Regions from separate parts of the Homo sapiens genome. Here all the other regions are linked to region 3. The links are contacts of gene promoters, found by promoter capture Hi-C in human tissues and cell types (Jung and others, 2019). All regions are on one chromosome and are shown on one strand. The core of a region is centred on a gene start or on the middle of the fragment in contact, and the rest is flanking DNA. Distances in the headings are between cores, read along the strand shown.

What was found. Contacts are between HindIII fragments. The study calls those that stand out against the background at their distance.
Region 1: a contact is called between a fragment that was not itself captured here and the fragment with the promoter of SPATA2 in region 3, in 1 of the 25 tissues and cell types used here (spleen).
Region 2: a fragment that was not itself captured here is called in contact with the fragment with the promoter of SPATA2 in region 3 in 2 of the 25 tissues and cell types used here (dorsolateral prefrontal cortex and lymphoblastoid cells).

The regions. Positions count from the first base shown.
Region 1 is chr20:49,305,980-49,310,740 of GRCh38, reverse strand. It overlaps LOC124904925 (a long non-coding RNA gene), which reads left to right. Exons shown (of 2, transcript XR_007067637.1): 2 at 1-224. Among named protein-coding and RNA genes, the nearest start is that of SNORD12, 28 kb to the right of the region's middle. The HindIII fragment of the contact is 7,715 bases long and covers 1-4,761 here.
Region 2 is chr20:49,394,223-49,398,760 of GRCh38, reverse strand. The region is part of intron 1 of KCNB1 (potassium voltage-gated channel subfamily B member 1); the gene reads left to right. The region is part of intron 2 of LOC105372649 (a long non-coding RNA gene); the gene reads right to left. Among named protein-coding and RNA genes, the nearest start is that of KCNB1, 86 kb to the left of the region's middle. The HindIII fragment of the contact is 4,918 bases long and covers 553-4,538 here.
Region 3 is chr20:49,912,933-49,917,461 of GRCh38, reverse strand. SPATA2 (spermatogenesis associated 2) reads left to right here and starts at 1,933. Exons shown (of 3, transcript NM_006038.4): 1 at 1,933-2,082. LOC105372653 (a long non-coding RNA gene) reads right to left here and starts at 1,640. Exons shown (of 3, transcript NR_134564.1): 1 at 1,377-1,640. RefSeq lists enhancers at 1,892-1,951, 2,746-2,915 and a silencer at 1,982-2,231. The HindIII fragment of the contact is 5,477 bases long and covers 1-3,827 here.

The sequences.
Region 1 (4,761 bases), core at 338-2,837, 610 kb after region 3:
AAGAACCCTCAGAACTGAATCCCTCCAACAAAAAAGAGAGAGAGCTTGGAAGCAAATCCTTCCCTAAGCAGATCCTTCCCCAGTCAAGCCTTAAGATGAGAATGCAGCCCCAGCCAACACCTGGACTGTGGCCTATGAGAGGCCCCAAAGCAGAGGACCTAACTAAGCCACACCTGGATCCCAACCTACAGAAATCATGAGTTAATAAATGTTGTTTCAAGCCACCAAGGTTGGGAAGTAATTTGTTATGAAGCAATAGATAAATAACACAGTTTATTTCAGAGGTATCTGCCATGCCTAAGCAGTGTTTGTTGTGGAAAATTATGTTCAGTTTGCAAGGAGTCATTTAGGGTGCTGAGGAAGAGCACAAGCTCTGAAGTTGGACAGCCCCGAATTCACATTCCAGCTCTGCTCCTGACTTGCTGTGCGATTTGGGGAGAGTCATTTCACCTCTCTGGACCTCAGTTTTCTCATGCACAAATGTAGCTTCCTACATTCACTCAACAAGTATTTATTAAGTCTCAAGTTTCTATTTCTCCCACATCCAGCATGCATCCAATTCCTCAGCAAATCCTGTCATCTTCACGTTCAAAATATACGGATAGGCTATACCAATGCTGGGGACTCAAGAGTGAACAAAAGAGATGCAGCCCCAGTTTCATGGAGCTTGCAGTCTGGAGGGCAGAAATTTATTACACAGATAATCATACAAATATTTAGTTAATAGCTGTGATAAGTGCTGTGCATGAAAGATCAGCGAGCTAACTGAGCACATCAGAGATGCCTCATCTCTTCTGCAAGTCAGGGAGGGCTTCTCTGAGGAGGTGGCTGAGGAAGGAGGTGGCTGAGGAGGAAGCTGAGACCAATACAAAGAGTCACTCCAGCAAAAGTCCTAAAGTTGAATCCCATTGGATCCATCTGAGTTACATGCACATTACAGAGCCAGGAAGATGAAAATGCTGATTGGCCAGGCCAAGGTCATACCCCTCCCCAGGAGCCAGGGTTTAGGGTCAGCTTCACCCAAACCGCAGGTACTAAAAATGGTGGAAGAATAATTCTCCCTTGAAAACATTGGGGTGAGTTGTTATCAGAAAAGGTGTAAATGCTGGGCAGAAAGAAACAACAGCCATCCACAGCAGGACTTAAAATTTTATCTAGAGTTTTTATCTTAGAGTTTGAACCTCACCTTCCCCATGGATGGGCTTCCAGAGCACAACTCCTCCCCTGACCATGACAAAATTAGATAAAATTCATCACTCCCACTTTGAGGACACCACTATATTAAAATGTAGCATTTTAGACATTTAACATATATAAAGAACCCTTATTACTCAACAATAAGAAAACAGCCCAATAAAAGAAAGAGCAACAAAATTTTCAACAGACACTTCACAAAATAATACATGCAAATGGCCAATAAGCACATAAAAAGATACTCAATAGCGTTAGACATTAGGGAAATGCATGTTAAAATCATAATGAGATACCGCTTCACACTCATTAGAATGGCAAATATTAGAAAGACTGATCATCACAGGGTTGGTGAGGATGTGGAGCGCATAAAACTCTCACCCAGGGCTGGTGAGAACACAAAATGAGATAAACCACTTTGGAAAACAGTTCGGTAGTTTCTTGAAAAGTTAAATGTACCTACCATGTGACATGACTCAGTCTTTCCACTCCTAGGTATCTGCCTAAGAGAAGCTAAAATATCTGTTCACACAAAGATTTGTACACAAATGTTCAGAGCAGCTTTATTTGTAATCACCATAAATTAGAAGCAACTTAAAAAGTCCATCCACAGATGAATGGATAGACAAATTGTGATATATCCATACCATGGGATATACTCAGCAATTAAAAGCAACATATTGTTGATTTCTACAACATAGATGAATCTCAAAATCATTATGTTGAGTGAAAGAAGCCAGGCAAAAGCATATACATATGCTGCATAATTCCATTTCCATAAAACCTAGAAAATGCAAACTAATTTATAGTGACAGTTGTTGTTCAGTAGTGGAGGGGATGCAGGTAGGAAGGAATCACAAAGGGACACATGGAAACTTTTGGGGGTGAGGGACATGTGCTCTATCCTAGTTGGAGAGATGGTTTAATGGGTCTATGTCAAGAGTAATCAGGAGAGTGGCGTGAACCAGGGAGGTGGAGTTTGCAGTGAGCCAACATCGCGCCACTGCACTCCAGCCTGGGCGACAGAGCAAGACTCCATCTCAAAAAATAATAATAATAGGCCGGGCGCAGTGGCTCAACCCCAGCACTTTGAGAGGCCAAGGCAGGCGGATCACGAGGTCAGGAGATCGAAACCCTCTTGGCTAACACGGTGAAACCCCGTCTCTACTAAAAATATTAAAAAAAAAAAAAATGTAGCCGGGCGTGGTGGGCACCTGTAGTCCCAGCTACTCAGGAGGCTGAGGCAGGAGAATGGCGTGAACCGGGAAGGCAGAGCTTGCAGTGAGCCAAGATCATGCCACCACACTCCAGCCTGGGCGACAGAGTGGGACTCCATCTCAAAAAAAAAAAAAAAGAGTAATCAAATTGGGGCTGGGCTTGGAGGTTCATGTCTGTAATCCCAACACCTTGGGAGGCCAAGGCAGGAGGACTACTTGAGCCCAGGAGTTCCAGACCAGCCCTAGGCAACAAAGTGAGGAAGGAAGATTGTTTTATTTATTAAGGAAGATTTATTATCTCTGCAAATAATAAAATAATTTTAAAGACCAATCAAGTTATATACTTTAAATATGTGCCACCATCCAGGCACAGTGTCTCAAGTCCTGTAATCCCAACACTTTGGGAGGCCGAGGAGGGCTGATCACTTGAGGTCAGGAGTTCAAGACCAGCCTGGCCAACATGGTGAAACCTCATCTTTACTAAAAATACAAAAATTAGCCGGGCATGGTGGCAGGTGCCTGTAATCCCAGCTACTCGGGAGGCTGAGTCAGGAGAATCACTTGAACCCAGGAGGTGAAGGTTGCAGTGAGCCAAGATTGTGCCACTGCGCTCCAGCCTGAGCGACAGAGTGACTCCATCTCAAATAAATAAATAAATAAATGTACTATAATTATGCCCCAATAAAATTTGGGGGGAAACTTTATCTGGAGAAGAAAACAAACAGAAAAAGAAATATATTTGGAAGACTATACGCCAAAGAGTTAAGTATAATAGTTACCTTCAAAGAGTGGGAAAGGAGACAAGAGCTGTCACTTTAAGTTGTTTACAACAGGCACGTATTTCTTAATGAGTTTAAGGAAACAAGTAACATTGGTTTTGCCAGCAAGCCTTGGCCCAGCCTTTAGGAGACCTGTCACATGCCCACAAACGACCAGGTTATTCTGCCAAAAAAAGATACTTCCCGAATTTGAGTCAAGGGTTTCTGGGGGCAAATTCCCATCTGAAGACAATGAAAAATGTCCTCCCTCAGAACAAGGACTTTATTTACACCTTATGTCTACATTCCGGACTGGGGCCCGCACGGGATGATAGCCTAGGAAGATAATGGAGTCATTAATCTCTGTCAAGGTTAGACTCCACCTGCCAGCTTCCCATCTGGGTAATTAAACCAGCTGGCAGCCCTGTTATCAGTCTCCGTGGTGTCTGCAGCGCAGAGGAGGGCACCTCTGGACATGGCACTGGCTTCTCCAGAAAGACAGGTTCCTGAGTAACCTCAGGAGAAGCAAACTAAGCCCACGCTGGGTATTCAGGCCTGACTCTGGCTAGGAAGTAGAGCCAAAACCTAGGCAAACATGGCCCTCCTGGCACATCAGGGAGTTGGGAACAGATGTCTGAGCTTTTGCATTTGTATGGTTGCCCAGGTGTAAGCTTCTAACCTCACCCTAACCTTTAATTCTTTGAATGCCACGGGAGTTGCCTACCCCACAGCTAGTCTCCAATGAGCCCCACTTTCTTCCTTCCTCACTAAGACCACCAAGATGTTTCAGGGGAGCAGCCCTCTGCCTGCCCCAGAAGGTAAACGTTAACCAGGCCTGGCCCTCGCTCCCTAGAGCATGGTCCAGCATCAGCATCCCCTGGGAGTGTGGTGGAAATGCACAATTTCAGGCCCACCCAGACCCGCTGAATCAGAACCTTCACTTTAACTCCCTGGAGATTTGATCGTGTTCATTCACAAATCTGGCTGAACGTGAGAAACGTCTGGAGAGTATTCCATGATACCAATGCCTGGGATCTTCTCCTAGAGATTTTGACTTAATCAATCTGGAATACAACCTGGACATCAGTATTTTTTTAAGTTGTGATGTACACTTAGTAGCATGTGTAAGGTGCACAAACTTTAAACGGATAGCTTGATTTTTTTTTTTAAGACAGTCTCACTCTGTTGTCCAGGCTGAAGCACAGTGGCGCGATCATGGCTCACTGCAGCCTCTACCTCCTGGGCTCAAACGATCCTCCTGCCTCAGCCTGCCTAGTAGCTGGGCCTACAGGCATACATCACCATGCCTGGCTAATGCTAAAGTTTTTTTTAAATTTATTTTTAGTACAGGTGGGGTCTTGCCATATTGCCCAGGCAGGCTGATCTCAAACTCCTGTGCTCAAACAATCCTCCTGCCTTGTCCTCCCAAAGTGCTGGGATTACAGGCTCGAGCCACAGTGCCCAGCTCAGCTTGATATTTTTTACACATGCGTACACACATGCAACCACCACCCAGATGATGGGATAGAACATTTTCAACACCCCAGAAAATTCCCTCTTGCTCCATCAAGGTAAGGTGACAAACCATCCTAATT
Region 2 (4,538 bases), core at 1,762-4,261, 520 kb after region 3:
CTCAACAATTAATGTTTTTAATTGTAAAACATTAATGTGCTGTAAAGATAGGGAACAACCCATAGGTTGTGAGGTAGAGCAGCCCTGGGTTCAAATCCCAGCTCTGCTACTTGTTAGCTGTGTGGCCTTGGGCAAAGCACTTGACCTCTCTGTGGCTTGGTTTCTTCATCTGTAAAATTGGATGAAAATGATCGATTGTTTTGAGTATTAAATGAGTTATTGCATTCAAAGCACTTAGAAAAGGGCCTGACACATTGTCGGTACTCAGTAAATGTTAGTTATTATGTTCATTATCTATTCAGTGTACTCAATGGTGCCAACTTATATGACTCACTAGGATTAAAATCTCTTCCCTCCACCTGGATGCTCCTTTCCCAGATCTTCATACAACTCGATACTCCATCTTTGGGTCTCAGCTCAGATGTCACCTCCTCAGAGAAGCCCTCCCTGACTACCATAGTTGATGATGTCCCTACAGCCAGTCTCTATCCCATTAGCCCATTTTCTTGCACCTTGAAGAGATCCTTTTTAATTTACCTATTTCCTCATTTCATGTCTGCTTCCCCCACCCAAATATCAGTTCCCTGAAGACAGAGTCTGTCTTGATCACTGCTGTGTCCTCAGGATCTGGAAAAGTGTTTGGCACATAGCTTGGCTCCATAAATGTTTGATGAATGAATGCCCCTTTTCTTCCCCGATAGTATTTCTGTGCCGCATCATCCATCAGGGAGGACACTGGGGCAAAGATGTAGCAAGGGGGGAGGGGTGCAGAGATGCATACCCCAAATAGCTGGGTTGGAGCTTCGGGGGGAGACCTAGGTGAGCCTGCCACCCCTCTGTCCCCCAAGAAGGGTCTTTTAGATCCCTGTCCCCGGTTGTGTAGAGGGTCTCAGCTCTGGGTGGCCTAAGAGGACAGGAGCGTTCTTCTTGACTTGGGTCATCCTAGCCAAGGTCAGGCTAAAGCCAGCAGGCCTGGGATTACACACCCTTGCACATCCAGCTGCTTAGCCGGATTAGTGCAGACGCCATGCCCACAGGCCTAGGCCCAAGACAGGGGCCCCGGGAGGGTGAGTCACAGGCCACCTCACCCTCCTACTCCTCTGGCCTTTCCTACACTGGAGAAGCCTCAAGACCTACCAGGGACCTGACAGAGTGGCTGTATTTTCTGTGTATATTTTCATTACTGTTTATTGAATGTCTACTGTATACCAGGCCCTGAACGGGGCACTTTACAGGCTCTCAGTCAGTCCTTCAGTCTGAGAGACTAGGGCTCATTTATTTATTTTTAAAATTCAGTTCCTCAATAGTTATTAAGCACCTACTATGTACCAGACACAGGTCTAGGCATGAGAGATGCTGAAGTTACAAAGATGGTCCCTGCTTTCATGGAGCTTTTAGAGGAAAAGACAGGCAGGGAGTAAATAAATATTTTCATTTTTTAATTTTTTTAATTTTTTTTTTTTTAGAGATAGGGTCTCGCTCTGTCACTCAAACTGGAGTGCTGTGGCGGTGACATGGTTCACTGCAGCCTCGACCTCCTAGGCTCAAGCGATCCTCCCACCTCAGCCCCCCAAGTAGCTGGGACTACAGGTGCACGCCAACTCACCCGGCTAATTTTTGTATTTTTTGTAGAGACGGGGTTTTACCATGTTGCCCAGGCTGGTCTCAAACTCCTGAGCTCAGGCGATCTGCCTATCTCGGCCTCCCAAAGTGCTGGGATTACAGGCATGAGCCACTGCGCCCAGCCATGAATATTTTTTAAATGCTCTTCAGCTCCTCAAGCCAGAGGTGAAGAAGTCGGGAAGGGAAAATGTGGATGGGCAGGTAGAGCTTTCTCGTGCACTCTATAGGCCCAGGAAGGATGTTTGTGGCCCATAACCCACGGCTGCTTGTGGGGAGCTTTGCCGTCTGTGAGAGAATAGAATATGGACAAGCTTTTACCACAAATGTTTGTTGAATGACTGAATGAATATTCTGCTGTTGCTCAGAAGCCTTCCCAAGCTCCCCATTGTCTGCGGGGTCTGGTCCAGACCCCTCAGCTGATGTTCACAGCACCCCCATGATCTGGCCCCAGGTGCTCCTCCGATTCCTCTCCATCTCAGGAAACACCACCACTATCCTCCCAGTTGCTCAGGATGAAAACCTGGGATTCCATCTTGACTCTTCTTTCCCTCGCCCCACACATCTGAGCCATCAGCAATTGGTTGATTTCACCTCCAAAATATAACTTGAATTTGTCTTCCGTACTGTGAACAGACACAGTCTCTTGCCTGGACACCTACCACAGCCTCCTCACTTTGATTCCTGTTTCTATTCCAGTCCCCCTACAGGCTGTTCCTAGGTGCAGCTCGGGGATTATTTTATTTTATTTTATTTATTTTATTTTATTTTATTTTATTTTATTTTACTATTTTTTGAAACAAAGTTTCACGTTGCCCAGGTTGGAGTGCAATGGCACAATCTCGGCTCACTTTAACCTCTGCCTCCCAGGTTCAAGCGATCCTCATGTCTCAGCCTCCCGAGTAGCTGGGATTACAGGCGCCCACCCCCGTGCCCGGCTAATTTTTGTATTTTTAGTAGAGACAGGGTTTCACCATGTTGGCCAGGCTGGTCTCGAATTCCTGACCTCAGGTAATCTGCCCACCTCCGCCTCCCAAAGTGCTGGGATTACAGGCATGAGCCACTGCGCCTGGCTAGAGCTAGGGGATCTTTAAACCTACATTAGGCCATGGCCGTGTGGCTCCCAGGATTCTCAGGTTCAAAACATCCTATCAGGTCTTAAAGGCCTGCCTCTCTTCTCTCTTTGACCTCAACTCTCACGCCCTTTGTCTTCCTCCCTAGCACCAGGGACACTGGTCGCCTTTCTCCTCCTCTTCTTGCCAATCTCTTCCCTGCCCCAGGACCCTTGCACTTGCCGTGACTGCTGCCCGGACCGGCCTTTCCCCAGATCTTTGCGAGCTGGCTCCTTTGCATTCCTCAGATCCGCACTCACGCATCACCTCCTCAGTGAGGCCCTCCAAAGCCGTTGGGCTAAAGTAGTCCCCTATCTCCTGCCCGTCTTTTTTAATCCTCTAATTCTGCTTTACTGAGGTGTGGTAGGATGAGCGGTGGGGACTAGGAGGAGCTTCAGAGCAGTCTAGAAGCAGGAGAGACGAGGGGAAAATGCAGCCAGGGGCTCTAAGGAAGCAGCAACATGGCTTCTCTGCAGCCATATACGGATGGATGAGGGGCTGGCCCAGGCAGGGATTCCATCCGCATATTCCTGATCCAGGGCATCTCGCGGACCCAGCTCTTGGCCCAGCATTCCCTAAGGAACCCATGACTGCTTCTCTGGCACTGTTTAATCTTTTCCCTCATCGCTGGCTACACGTCTAATGATTTATTCCTGGGCTCCCAAACCAGATTCCTGCAGAAGCCAAGCGAGCCTCATAAACAACACGCACAGGGTGCACGTGAGATTTTAGAGTACAGGACTGGACTTAACACCGCGCAGCGGCAGCCTGGGCTTGCCACGGAGCAGCGTGGACCAAGAGTACCCAGAGCTTCAGATTTTTCTTGAGAAGCTCAAATGTGAATTCATAGGGAAAATAAATATTGGCAACGAATTCACTGTGTGGGCCAAAACTCCCTGCCGGTGGATGAGTGGGGGGCCGTCCTGCTGGCAGGGTGTCCTCGGTTCACATGCGTACCCTGGGGTACGCATTTTCCATGCATGATTTCATTGCTGCCTGACAACCACCTGTGCAGGGGGTATTATTCTGAGCCCCATTTTACAGATGAGGAAGCTGAGGCTCAGAGAGTTAATGTGATCATACATGCCAGAGTTCAACCTATATCTAGAACTAATCTGCTTGCCCAAAAGCTGAAGTGGTTCCAAACTCTGTACTAAGAGTGTCTACCTGTTTTGTCTGACTTCATCTTCCGATTCTGCCTGTTTCACACGGGAGACTCAGAGAGGTTAAGTAATGTACCGAAAGTCACCCAGCTGCCAAGGGCCAGGATTGGAACCCAACTTTGTCCAAAGTCAAAGTTTGTAGGCTAACCCCTTACTCTCTATCCAGTTTCAATATGAAGGAGCTTTGAGAAGTTCAAGTGACCACAGAATCCTTGGTGGTACTGAAACAATTATCTGTACAAGATCCTACTAAGCGTAAGCCCTGAGAAGTGCTAAGACTTCTGGCCCTTCTATGGAAACCCTGTGTTGCAGCCAGGGCTCTTAGATGACACTTTTTTGGAGAGAGTGGGATCCTCAGGAATTTTGTTCAAATGCTGACATCTGACCGCTTGTTCACTTTATGTGTCAACTCCTGGGCTTTGGTTGCTCCTGCCAGACCCCAGTGCAGGCTGGGAGAGTTTGGAGGATTCCAGATGCAATCTAGAATCTGCCCAGAAGCTTGCGGCTCATGGGGGAGCTTCCACCAGTGGGTATACCTCCTCCCGTCCTTCTCTCCACCACTCCTTGATCTATGGAAGAAGGGAACAGGCATTTCTTGAGGACCTGGTAGATGCCATGCACTTTCTTTGTGATATCTCAGTGT
Region 3 (4,529 bases), core at 684-3,183:
GTTGTTGGCTCTTCGGAAGTAGAAGTGCCTAATCATTGTCACGTGACCCTTACATAATCTGGTAATCATTATATAATAAAGTCGGGAAAGGACGCTCCTGTCATTTCTACATCACCAAGTAGAGAAATCACAAGCCTTCAACTGTGTTTAAAAGATGAGAAACATGGCCGGACACAGTGGCTCAGGCCTGTAATCCCAGCACTTTGGGAGGCCGAGGTGGGCGGATCACGAGGTCAAGAGATGGAGACCATCCTGACCACCTTGGTGAAACCCCATCTCTACTAAAAATACAAAAAATTAGCCAGGCGTGTTGGCGCGTGCCGGTAGTCCCAGCTACTCCGGAGGCTGAGGCAGGAAAATGGCGTGAACCCAGGAGGCGGAGCTTGCAGTGAGCTGAGATTGTGCCACTGCACTCCAGCCTGGGTGACAGAGCGAGACTCCGTCTCAAAAAAAAAAAAAAAAAAAAAAAAAACTGAGAAATGTGACTGTCTTTGGAGACTTTGGGTCTTTTCTGATAGTAGATGATGACCAGGGTTTCCTACTGGTAAAGCCCTTCTTCAAAATCTTTGTTTCTCTTTTGCCTGTCATAGACCCACAGAGCTGGAGGGGACTTTTTTAAGCAGCCCCACGTGAAAATGCAATATTGTAAGAGCTACCAAACCAGAGTGCTGAGTTGCTGTAAGAGGCAGACTTAAGGTGGGACAGTTTGTCTCAGATGGAATTCCTGTGAACATCATCACATTGCAGATAATTAAGAGAGGAGCTTAAACATGAGCTGATAAAGAACACAGGGACTTTGAGCGGTGCTCAGGCAACGACAGGTAAACACAGTAATGCTACTGTTTGGACAGCAGCAGATTGCTGGTTCTCCAAACGTTTCCCAGTATTGTGTCACTGACTCATCACACAAGCCCCACCGGTTTTAGCTGGGGTCACCAAGACTCAGAGTGAGAATCCTACAATCAATGAACATCTGTTGTGTGCCTCCTCATCAGACATGTGCAGAGCTCGGGGGGAAATAGATGAATAAGAAGCTCAGGGTCTGGTGGGGATGTCAGATTATATATATATATAGTTTATCCGAAAGTGCTGGGATTACAGGCGTGAGCCGCCGTGCCCGGCTTTTTTTTTTTTTTTTTTTTTTTTTTTTTTTTAAGAGACGTGGCCTCGTTATGTTGCCCAGGTTGGTCTCGAACACCTGGGAGCAAGCCATCCTCTCGCCTCAGCCTCCCGACTAGCTGGGACTACAGTCGCGTGCCACCACGCCTGGCTTTATTATTTAATATTACAGGTTAGAAAGCTGAGGCTCAGAGAGGTTAGGTAACTTGTCCAAGGTCACACAGCTAGTAAGTGGCAAAACTAAAAATAGAACCCACGCTCTTAACCGCCGCCCACGGCCCGTAACACCCGCAGCCCTAGCAAGGCTGGATTCCAATCACGCGTGATTTCAGCATCTCACTGGCTCTCTTTGAGCCTCGGTACTTCTGTCCGTAAAATGGGGGCGAGGGATCCGACCGTCAGCCCCTGCTTGCTTGTGCGGAGTCATGAGTACAGCTCGTGGATCATGATAAGTGGCAGGTCCGGGAAGTGGAGGCCGAGTTCACGCAGTCAGCACTCATAGCTCCCAGCTCCCTGCTCCTGAGCGGTTTCCATGACAACCCGGCCAGCCACCATCCCTAGGCCGAGCGGCTTGCGTCACGTCCGGCCTGTTTACTTCCGGGTCCCAGTCTCAGACGCAGCGATGGCTCGTTAGGCTCCAAAGTGCGGTTCCGCCGGTTTCGTCCTCGCTCTTCGGCCTTCCGCTTTGTCCTCCGCCTCTGGGTTGTAGTCTCCGTCGGCCGCGGGCATCGACCGCTTCCCGGAGCCAGCGCGCAGCCGTGGTCCACCCTCTCTTCGGGCCCGCCTCATGGTGACATCATTTCCGGGCCGAGTGTTTCCGGGTCGCTGCTGGCCCCCGGGTACTGGTCTCAGTACCCCTGCAGCCGGCCGGAGAGGCTAGAGCCCGACGGGGCCCGGCTCCGGCGGCAGCCGCGCCTCTCGCTTGCTTCCCTCGGCCGGGCCGTCCTCGGCGGCAGTGTCAGGGTGAGTGACGGGCGGCCGCGGGCGGAAACTGCCTTCGGGGCTTCCCCAGGCGGAGGGGGCGCCAGACAGCGGCAGGGCTCGGCTGGCCCGGGAGCGGGGTACCCTCACGGCAGGCAGGACTACAGGTGGGCCCGCTGTTTCGGCGCTCCCGGGACCCCCAGCCTATCCTCAGGACCCCCATTCTCCCGGGAGCTGCCTCGCAGGCTCCTGGGACCCGCCGAGGGTGGCTCAGGGCCGCCCAAGAGGAACACCCCTCTTCGGCGACTGGCCAAACAGAAGGACACCCCGATTTCGCCACGAGGCAGTTACCGCGCAGGGGTTCCCAGTTCAGGCTCTGGCGGCACACCTGGGTTTGTACTCACTGTGTGACCTTGGATAAGTCACTTCATCTTAAGAGCCTCAGTTGCCTATTTAAGTGATTGAACCTGGTTGCTAGGGCTGGAGTGGAGATGGAATGAGATCATGCAGGGCCTCTGGCATACAGCAGGCGTCCAATAAGTGATAGTTCCTGTTACTTCATTCAATTCACGAAGCCGTAGGGGGGGCCAGAATTTGAGACTGGGCTGTTTTTCACAACTGACGTGGCCCCCCGAGGCTGTAGGAATGACCGAGCTGGGACTTAGCAGCCGCCAGCTTCTGTCCCCTGCAGGGAGGGAAACAGCTTCCTTCAGAGCTTCTCCGAGAGAGGCAGCTGCCACTAGGGAAGCTTCTTTCAGCACCGCTGAGGTTATTTTCAGAGGTTTGGAAGGACTCTGTGTGAATTTCTTTGGAATCTAGTAGGAGTGTGGGGACCTTCTGGTGTTTCACAGCCAGTGGAAGGTGCCTTGGATGTTTCTCGGAGCCTCTTGCTTGGAACGAGTGCATTGGTGTGGGTGGGGAGGTGGAGGGGGTTGAACTGACTTCCCCGTCTCCTGTTTGGAGGCTGATGGAGCTAGACCAGGGATGTGTAAACCTGTGGACAGGGGCAGTGCACAGACCAAAATAGGTCTGCCTGTGCAGAGAGGGGGCGCCTTCAAATGCTGCTTGGGGAACATTTCTGCTTGAATGGGCCAGCTGAGGTAAAGCCAAGCTAATGCTTAGCTACTCGGAATCACTTCACTTCCATGCAGTGGGACTCTAAACAGATACAGCTTTCCTCTTAGATGTTCAAAAAATAACTAAAGAAGCCACTGGCTCCCTGACTGTGCAATATCTCTTTTTCCATTGACTTGCTTTTCAAGAAGGTACCTAGATTGTGGGTGCAGGAGGTGCTGACTGGAGCCGTTGACTCTGGGCACCTGCCTGTCTCTGTGTTCAGGATATTCACAGTGCTGTTTTTTTGTTTTTTGGGTTTTTTTTTTTTTTTTTTTCCACCAGACTGGCACGGCTTGGCGTTCCAATCCTTGGGTTGCTTGGAGAAATTAGCAGCTTCTGTCGCTGGGCTGTCTCGGTCTCCTGTAACCACGATGTTTTTGCAGAGAGCGTATTTTGTTGTTCTTGCAGAGTGCTGGGAATGAATTGCTGGCTCTGTGCTCAGAAAAAACACCAGCTATGACCAGCTACAAGGCATCTTGTATTCTCAGAAAATGTTTTCAGCAGGGATGATGTCAGCTGCTTCATCACTGGCCGATGTCTCTGACCAGCCTCTTTCCTTGGCCCTTGAGCTTACATCATATAGAGATTAGCTCTCCTAGCCCCATTCGGTGTGGGAAGATGGGAATTTTGCTACTACAGGAATTTTTGTAACTCAACTCTGCTCGCGCCGCCATAAGGCATTCTAACTTAGCCAAACACTTTCGAGTAGAGCTGTCCAGCAGATGCAGCAGGATGGCTTTGCAAGAGTCGGAGTTTTGGCGTTAGACCTAGGTTCAGAGCTCAGATCCACTTCTTCCTAGCCTTACGACTTAGGGTAAGTGAGTTGGCCTCTCCGAGCCTCAGTTTCCTCTTTAACCTTGGATCTATCCTGTGGATTTCATTGGTTTTCACAGAGCAGTTAGCAGAGGGATGCCACACAGTAATCCCTTGGTAAATGGTACTGATGTAACAATAAATGAGTGAGGTAAATTGGAGAAAGCCCAGGCATCAAGGGCCTCCCAGCAAGAGTTCAGATTCCAGCTCTGACCCTTTCAAACTCTGTTGGGCAGGTTGTTTTAATGGGAAGAGCCTGTTTTCCTTATAGAGTTGTGAGGATTAAATGGGATGATGTAGGTAAAGTGGGAAGCCCAATGCTTAGCACATAGTAGAACCTCAGTAATTGTTAGTCTCTTTCTTTCCTTTCCTTATTGACTGATTGAGACAAGGTCTTGCTCTGTCACCCAGGCCGGAGTGCAGTGGTGCCATCATAGCTCACTGCAGCCTCAAACTCCTGGGCTCAGTGGATCCCCCCACCTCAGACTCCCAAGTAGCTAAGACTACAGGTGGGTGTCACCACACCCACCTAATTTTTTTTTTTTTTTTTTTTGTAGAGA